Linked DNA regions of Homo sapiens: all the other regions are linked to region 3. Evidence: promoter capture Hi-C in 16 types of primary human blood cells and fetal thymus (Javierre and others, 2016). All regions are on one chromosome and are shown on one strand. The core of a region is centred on a gene start or on the middle of the fragment in contact, and the rest is flanking DNA. Distances in the headings are between cores, read along the strand shown.

Region 1 (2,700 bases), core at 185-2,684, 650 kb before region 3:
CCAAACCTGAAAAAACCCGAAATCAGAAACACTTCTGGTCCCAACCATTTTGGATAAGATGTATTTCATAAATTAGTATTTCTTTTCATAGAACTAGCAGTAATGTAACAATAATAGCATGATGTGATAGAGCTTGGGCTTTAAACCCAGAAAGCTGTGAATTCACATCTCAGGATTTTTTTTTCTGAAGCTAAACTACAGCTGGAATCTAGTGCAAATAATTTCTTTAAACAGCCAAAATGGGATTAATAATGCTTTACTCTCAGAGTTGCCAGGAGGATTAAATAAAATGCCTAATTTCACTGGCTGCCTTTTAGGAGGTGTTGAGTAAATGTCCTCTCCTTTGCTCTCTCTTGAATAGTTTATTGTGGGATAAAGCACTTTTGTATATACCTTCTCATTTGATTTTGATTTGGAATAATTTCTAATAAATTGAGATTTTAAAAGGTATGTGGCTGACTCAAGGCCACCCAAGCAAAAACAAGGCAGAACCAAGGCTTGAATTCAAAGCTTCTGGTTTCCATCCCAGCACTCTATGCACTATCGGCAGTTTTCAGGAAAATGAGCCGCAGTGTTCCATCATACAGCCAATAGCAGAAACACGTGATGATGTATAGGTAGAATACAGTGACACAGTGGGCAGGGAGATATATTGGGCTGAAAATCTGAAAAACAATACAAATTACTAAACATTCTGAATGAAAAGTGAATAAAGGGAGCATTGCATATATTTTATCAAATAAGCTTATTGAGGTTGGGTGCGGTGGCTCACACCTGTAATCCTAGCTGAGGCAGGTAGATCGCTTCAGCTCAGGAGTTTGAGACCAGCCTGGCCAACATGGTGAAACCCTGTTTCAATTACAAAAATTAGCTGGGCATGGTGGCTCGTGCCTGTACTCCCAGCTACTTGGGGCTGAGGTGGGAGGATCACTTGAGCCCAAAAGGCAGAGGTTGCTGCGAGCCGAGATAACGCCACTGCACTCCAGCTGGGGCGACAGAGTGAGACCCTTTCTTAAAAAAAAAAAAAAAAACCCAAAAAACTCAAAAAACCAAAAACCAAAACCAAATAAGCTTATTGATAAAATAGGGAGATTTTAGGCCTAAACAGTCTAGCCATAATACTAAGAAAAATGGCTTTTCCTAGGCTTGAAAATATAACGGAAAAACAATTTCTTTCCAGGAAGATTCACTGACATCTACCACTGTGATTCTGCTTTCTGTCTCCTGCCTTGGATGTTACATGCAGTGTTTGAAGGATGGTCCTTGTGTGTAGGATGCTTGAGCTAAAAATGCCTGCCAAAGCCACTCCTTCCTGTGCTTTGTCATAATTTATTGCTAAGATGTTTATGTTCTCTGGTTTTGAGGTGCTAGAGATCCTGACTAAAAGTGACTTCCTCATAAATGAAGATAAGTTGAAGTCATTGTGAGTATTCACTACACAGCTTTGTTGATTTTATCCCTTTCATAACTTGAGATGGCTTTTTTAGCCAAGCCATCTCAATAGTTTGTTTCTTTTCCTCTACGATTTACAAACTGAGCTGACCAGTTTGCCAGCAAAGTTAACTGACGCAAGATGGTATTCTTCGCAGCTATTAAGTGTCCATAAAGTCTCTTATCTGTGTGGCATTCTCAAGGTTAGTTTCATTCCTGTGGCCTGTGAATTTAAGTCAAATATACTGACAGTGTCAAGTCAAATATACTGACAGTGTCCTCACTGCATTCTCCCCTCCAGTTTTCTTGTAACAGCTTTAGTCTCTCTACGTACTTTGTGTTTTCTGGAAACATTTTCAGTCAATCCTAAGCTTGAACACTCATACTTACTGTTCTTTGATCATATTCTAGATTTTCCTACTTAGGTATTTCTCATGCCTTTCTCCACATCTCTGCTCCTTGAAATGCTACTTATTCTTCAAAAGGCAGCTTAAATGGCCTCTTAGCTACACTCCCAACGACAAAACAATAATGATTTTTCCTAAATCCTGAAGCATTTGGCTTGGATATTTTTATGAAACTTATTAGAACATTCTGTAAAATAGTTACCTGTGCTCAGATCTGATCTTTATTTTTTAAGTTCCTTCAAGGCAAAGATTGTTTTAAATTTCTCATAAATGCTTAACACAAATGTCATTAAATTTGTCAGTAATTCTATATTGACAAATTAAGTTCTATATTTCCCACAGTTGGAATTTAGAACAAAATGTGATTAAAACTTTTGCTAGTCTTGGCCAGGCGCGGTGGCTCACGCCTGTAATACCGGAATTTTGGGAGGCCGGAGGCGAGCGGATCACCTGAGGTCAGGAGTTCAAGACCAGCCTGGTGAAACCCCATCCCTACTAAAAATACAAAAATTAGCTGGGTGAGGTGGCACACGCCTGTAGTCCCAGCTCCTTGGGAGGCTGAGGCAGGAGAATCGCTTGAACCTGGGAGGTGGAGGTTGCAGTGAGCCAAGATGGTGCCACTGCACTCCAGTGTGGGCAGCAGAGTGAGACTGTCTCAAATACAACAACAACAACAAAAGTTTTGCTAATCTGATGTATGATGAGTCAACAATCAATAATTTGGCAATTTCATGACTCGAGTGTCAAAAAGATGTACCTAAACACACCGTTGTCTATAGAAAATGAATAAAAAATTAGTGATTTTATTACTTTATATGAACTTCAAAAAGGGGCTGGGTGCAATGGCTCACGCCTGTAATCC
Region 2 (2,743 bases), core at 1-2,500, 810 kb before region 3:
AGGGGGTCTGGGGAGCTCACTCCCTGCAGAAGACGTACTCGGTGTAGCTGGTCCAGATCTTGTCCTCGCTCTGGTCGGTGCTGCTGGCAAAGGCGCAGGTGCCCGTGGAGCTGCACGCCACCATGTGGAAGCCCGACTCGGACAGCTTGTCGAAGGCCTGCTCCAGGAAGTTGAACTTGAGGTAATAGCGCGAGGTGTAGCGCTCCGGGGGACGGTCGGGGTCCCGGCTTTCGTTCAGGGTGTCCCCAAACACCTCCTTGGCCAGCGACGTCTTTCCGCAAACGGTGATGCGCGCCACTCGCCGGAACTTGGCGTCCGCCTGCGCGTCCCGCCCGATGGTGTAGGAGCCGCGGTAGCCGATGGTGATGTAGCCCGAGCGCCGGCTGCCGTCCAGCGACTGGGACGGCGTGAGCAGCGGGCCCGCCGCGCCCCCGGACGGACTGCGGCTAGCCAGCTCCAGCGTGGGCGACGGCGCCCCGGCAGAGGCGCCCTCCTGCTGTTCGGGCTCCGAGTAGCCAAGCGGCAGCAGCTCGTCACCCAGCGAGCCCTCCTTGTGCACCCCGCGCCGCGAGGGCGGCGGCCCCGGGCCGGGCTGCTGGGGCGCCCCGAGGCGGCGCACGAGCTCTGGCAGCTCGAAGTACTCGGCCTCGCGCTGCAGCCGGCTGCGCTCGGGGAAGTAGTCGGGCAGCACGAGCTGCAAGTCCCGCAGGTAATCCAGGATGTAGCGGAAGAGGAAGCCGTCCCGGTCCAGAAAGAAGCGGCCTTTGCTGTCCCGGGCCAGCTCCTGCGGCTGCTGCTGCGTGAACATGCGCCAGAGCAGCGAGTCGGGCACCGACACCACCGTGCAGCGCCGGGTCACGTACACCTGGCCCCCCACGTTCAGCTCCACGATGTCGGGGAAGAGCGGTGGCTCCGCGGAGGACGACGAGGAGCCACTGCCGCCCCCGCCGCCGCCCCCGTTGGGTAATCCACGTGTGCTGTCCGCCAGAGCCATGACAGAGAGGTGGCCGGGCCGGGACAGTGGCAGGAAGCCGCGCTGCACTCAGGAGCTGCAACCGCCTTCCCCGGAGCCCCGGAACCCGGACGCTCGCTCAGCCCTGCGCCCCGCCGCCGCCGCCGCCGCCACCGCCGCCACCGCCACCGCCGCCACCTCCTAGAGCCGCGCGGAGCCGAGCGGTGCGAGCGCGCCGCTGTGCGCCCCCTTGAGTTCCAGTGCGCTCCGCCCGCCTTGCCCGCGCGCTCCAGGCGAGTGCCGGGTCGCGGCCCGCGCGCTGCTTAAGTAGAGCCGCCTGCTCTGGTGCCGTGGCGCGCAGGAGGCGTGGGCGGCGGCGGAGCCTCGCTTACCGGGCGAGGGGAGGTGGGGAGCGGGGACTCGATTTGCATCTTAAACGCGGACGCCACGCGGGGCTGCTGGCTCCACCCCGGCTCGCGAGCGCTGGGGGCGCCCGGACTCCCACCCGCTCCCCACCCACCAGCCCCGCCCCGTGGTCCCGCCCAACTTTCTCCCTCTTCCGAAGAGGACCCGCCCGAGACTTGGCGGCTTCGGAAGACAGCTCCTTGGAGGGACAGTCACCGCGCCCCCTCCCCTCTCGCCCCAGCCCGCACCCAAGGACTCTGGAAGGAGGACGTGAACTTTCGGAAGCCTGTCGCCCCGGGAGTGGAAATGCGTGGCCGCCTCCGGCCCTCCCGCCTGCGGAACTGGGCGCTTCCAGCAGTGCAGCTGCGGCCTGCCATCGTTGGTTGTCGTGTCACTGAAAGTAGAGAGACGCGAAAAACCTGGAGAGACGAAAGAGCCGCCCCAGTCCGAGCGCAGCCAGATTTTGTTCAAGTTGCCTTGCAGCCAGCCTGGAAAATAAATAAATAAACCTAGAAACAAAAAGCAAACCTCAGTGTCCCGCAGTAGGATGCTTTACGATAGTTTATTTTCTGGCTGCAGAGACAAAATGAGATGAAGCTTCAAATCTGCTCTTAATTGCAATTCCCTCTTCCCGCAGGGCCTTCGAGGCACTTCACTTCGAAGTGAAGGGGTAAGACTCCGGAACGTTCGGTCTCCGGGTCCCATTCAGCCTTCGTTGAATCGCGCCCTTAGACTCACAACAGTTGCAGATCTAACGTAATTTTTAAAGCCACCTTTGGCGCCTGCATGTTTATCCTTCCAAAAGTCCAGGCGCCCCTTCTCTCCCGCATGCCTCGGTCACTCTTCGGCCCTGTCCAAGTTCCCGTCAGTCTCAGAAAGGGATATTTATATATCTGAAGGCCCTTGTCTGGATCCCATCTCTCAACTCCTGCTGCCTACACGTTTGCTTTTCCCCCTCGGACTGCAGCCCACAGAACCGCCCCCTCCCCCTGGAAGCTTTCCCTGGCTTCCCAGGTGGGTGGGGCCTCTGGATGGCTCCCTACACACTGTCTGCGCTGCTCCCAGCACGTTCTGAAATGTCATATTTATGAGTGATTATCTGATCACTGATTTGGGTATGAAAATAAGTAAGAGCTCCTGAATGCTGCAAAAAGAGAAGAGTGCAGAGGAGGGTGTCAAGAAATGATTGGGTCACTGAATGTTTCTTGTGTACCTGCTATTATTTGCAGGGCACCAGGGAGTGAGGAATGCAAAGGCGAATAATCTCCAAAGCGCTTTCAGTGTAGCCCAATAAGCAAAGGGTCAGGGGTCTGCGCAGTTATCACATCAGTTTGAAGTATAGACCACACATCAGGATAAATCAGGCAAGATCTTTGTTCTTGATAA
Region 3 (2,700 bases), core at 115-2,614:
AAGCATGTTAAATGCAGAACATCCACCCTGCACACAGAAGCTAGAGATGTAGATTAACAACTGAGAAGATACAAGTGTTTCTGAGCAGGAAGACACAAAACCATATCTGAAACCAATAGATACGATGTGTTAGCAGCTCCAGAGAAATGAGGTACATTGTCACAAAGATTGGTATGTAAAGTCCCTAGCAAGGACTTTCACTAGATAGTATATCATCTGAGGATGAGAACCAGTGGTGTAGATTTTTCTCATAATATAATCTCAGGTTTTCCTCTGATTGTGTTAAACACTCAAAATGCTAAGTCAGTCAGTATTCATTGAACACAACTCGATTAAATTCTTCTGCTTAAAAGCCTCTTTTAAAAAAAGCAGATTTGCTCGTTTTCCAAGTGGTAAGAAATAGCAGGTTTGCAGGTGAGATTAAAGTGTATTGGGTAGAATTCTGAGGTTTTCTGTTTTCTGCTTTCCCACCAGCAAGTCTGACTTTAATAACTTACACATTATTTAATAGAAGGAGCACTAAACAATTTTACTCATATTTCTCCCCATAACCATTTTTGCCTATTGTACTCATTGCCCGCATCACGAGCTCTTAGAATGGTTCCTGGCACAGAGTAGGTGCTCAAAGATCTTTTGTTTGGGGAATGCATGAATATACATAGTATGAAAAAAAAAGCAGTTCTTCTTTTATTGTGACAAACAATGATGGTAACAGTTCAAATTTGACTATTTTAGAATAAATAAGTAAACACTTGTCTCCTTAGCAGCTGGCCACTCTACCTCTTAGAGAGAGGGCTTTCTTCTCTTTCTTCTCGGTCTCCTGTCTCCCACCATTTTGCTTCTCTATTACCAATGAGAACATGAGTGGCATGGTCCCAAAGCCTTTCTGTTCCCCCTATCTCCACTTTTCGGTTTTTAGAATAACGATCCCCAGCCTTTAAGTTTTCTATAGGATTCGTTAGCCAGTGGCTATTAAGTGCTGTCACGGAGCCTAACAGAGAGCTGGGAAGGGAGCAAACCAGCGGGCCGGTGGTGCACTACTCGAGGGCCAGCACCTGCAGCTGCTTCTTTGGGAACCCCCTGGTCCCCGCAACCGCCTCAGAGACCCGCGCAGTTCACTGTCCCACCAAGCGGCAGGAGGAGGTGCTTGTGGCGGGAAAGTTCAGGCCAGGTCCAATCAGGCCCCTGGGATTAGGTAGCGAGGGTGGGTGCGGCTCCCCGGCCCCAACCCGGGCTGCCGGCCCCGCCCCCTGGGTGGGCTTCCCCACGGTTCTCCGCCCCCCCCCCCCCACCCGCCCCCTCGGCGCTCTTGCCCCGCCCCGCTCCGGGGCCGCGGCTAAAACCCGGAGCCGCCGCGACGCCCAGGGGACTGGAGGGACGCACTGAGCATGTGCAGATCAGCTCGGTGGTGGCTGCCGCGGCCGGAGGCGAGGGCCCGGTGCTGATGCGAACCGCCGGCTCGGCCTCAGCCCGCGCGTGGTCGGCCCCCCAGGCCGGGGCGACAGGGAAGGAGCCGTAGCCTCCCCGTGGCCCGAGGAGCCGGCGCGGCGGCGCGCACTCCCCGGCGGCCGCGGCGCCCTCGGGGCCCACGATGATGGCGGAGCAGGTGAAATGCGCCTCGGCAGGGGTCAGCTCTGGAGCGGGCTCCGGGCCGGTGGTGAACGCGGAGCTGGAGGTGAAGAAGCTGCAGGAGCTGGTGCGCAAGCTGGAGAAGCAGAACGAGCAGCTGCGGAGTCGAGCGGCCAGCGCGGCCGCCGCCCCGCACCTGCTGCTGCTGCCGCCGCCGCCGCCCGCCGCGCCGCCCCCCGCTGGCCTGCAGCCTTTGGGTCCTCGGAGCCCCCCGGCCGCCACGGCCACCGCCGCGGCCTCAGGGGGCCTGGGGCTCGGGCTGGCGCTGGGCGCGGGGGGCGGTGGCGGCAGCGGTAGTGGCAGCGGCGGTGGCTCCAGCCCCGCGTTCCCGGGCACCTTCTGCCTGCCTAGCCCCGCGCCCTCCCTGCTTTGCAGCCTGGCGCAGCCACCCGAGGCGCCCTTCGTCTACTTCAAGCCGGCAGCAGGCTTCTTCGGCGCGGGCGGTGGCGGGCCGGAGCCGGGGGGCGCGGGGACGCCGCCAGGGGCAGCTGCAGCGCCGCCCTCGCCGCCCCCCACGCTGCTGGACGAGGTGGAATTGCTGGATCTGGAGAGCGTAGCCGCCTGGCGGGACGAGGACGACTACACCTGGTACTGCCTGGCTCCGCTCCTTCCCCGAGACCCTGGCCTCGGGGGCTTCGGGCACCGGGGAGCGGGGGCGGGGGGCGGACGGGGGTCCCCTCGCGGCAGCCGGGGTGACTCCCCGCGGCTCCCGGAGGGGCCGACCCAGCAGGTGTTGAGCCAGGCGGTGACACTTCCCACGATGAGGCTTCTCATGAAGGCAGAAACCTGTTTTCTAATCGCTCCGACTGCGGATGAACCGGCCCCCCCTTCCCCCCATCTGCCATGGGTTCTGCTATTTGCTGATTGTTGGGTCCCAAGCTCCTCGTTAGCATTAAGTGCAAAATCCATGTCATCTTGTCTTTTTGCTCAGTGCTGCTCTTTTCCCCAGTGTTTTCGGAGGGATGACGGGGGATGGTAGGGGTTGGCCTCTGTCTGCGACTGTTACTGTTCTTTCGTTTTAAACGAACGCTGGACAGGATTTGCGTGCTCTTCCTCCTCGGGTGGCATCGG

The links. The method cuts DNA at HindIII sites, captures the fragments that hold promoters and counts their contacts. A CHiCAGO score of 5 or more calls a contact.
Region 1: a fragment that was not itself captured here is called in contact with the fragment with the promoter of SLAIN1 in region 3 in 1 of 17 cell types (non-activated CD4 T cells); the score reaches 5.8 in non-activated CD4 T cells.
Region 2: a contact is called between the fragment with the promoter of KCTD12 here and the fragment with the promoter of SLAIN1 in region 3, in 2 of 17 cell types (fetal thymus and naive CD4 T cells). The highest score is 8.2, in fetal thymus.

What each region holds. Positions count from the first base shown.
Region 1 is chr13:77,041,409-77,044,108 of GRCh38, forward strand. No RefSeq gene overlaps it. Among named protein-coding and RNA genes, the nearest start is that of FBXL3, 16 kb to the left of the region's middle. The HindIII fragment of the contact is 731 bases long and covers 1,070-1,800 here.
Region 2 is chr13:76,885,155-76,887,897 of GRCh38, forward strand. KCTD12 (potassium channel tetramerization domain containing 12) reads right to left here and starts at 1,251. Exons shown (of 1, transcript NM_138444.4): 1 at 1-1,251. The coding sequence starts at 994. The coding sequence ends at 17. RefSeq lists an enhancer at 266-765 and silencers at 379-648, 1,049-1,478. The HindIII fragment of the contact is 7,244 bases long and covers 1-1,952 here.
Region 3 is chr13:77,696,323-77,699,022 of GRCh38, forward strand. SLAIN1 (SLAIN motif family member 1) reads left to right here and starts at 1,365. Exons shown (of 7, transcript NM_001242868.2): 1 at 1,365-2,217. The coding sequence starts at 1,592. MIR3665 (microRNA 3665) reads right to left here and starts at 1,794; the gene lies at 1,690-1,794. RefSeq lists silencers at 1,123-1,682, 1,883-2,122, 2,283-2,432. The HindIII fragment of the contact is 5,751 bases long and covers 1-2,700 here.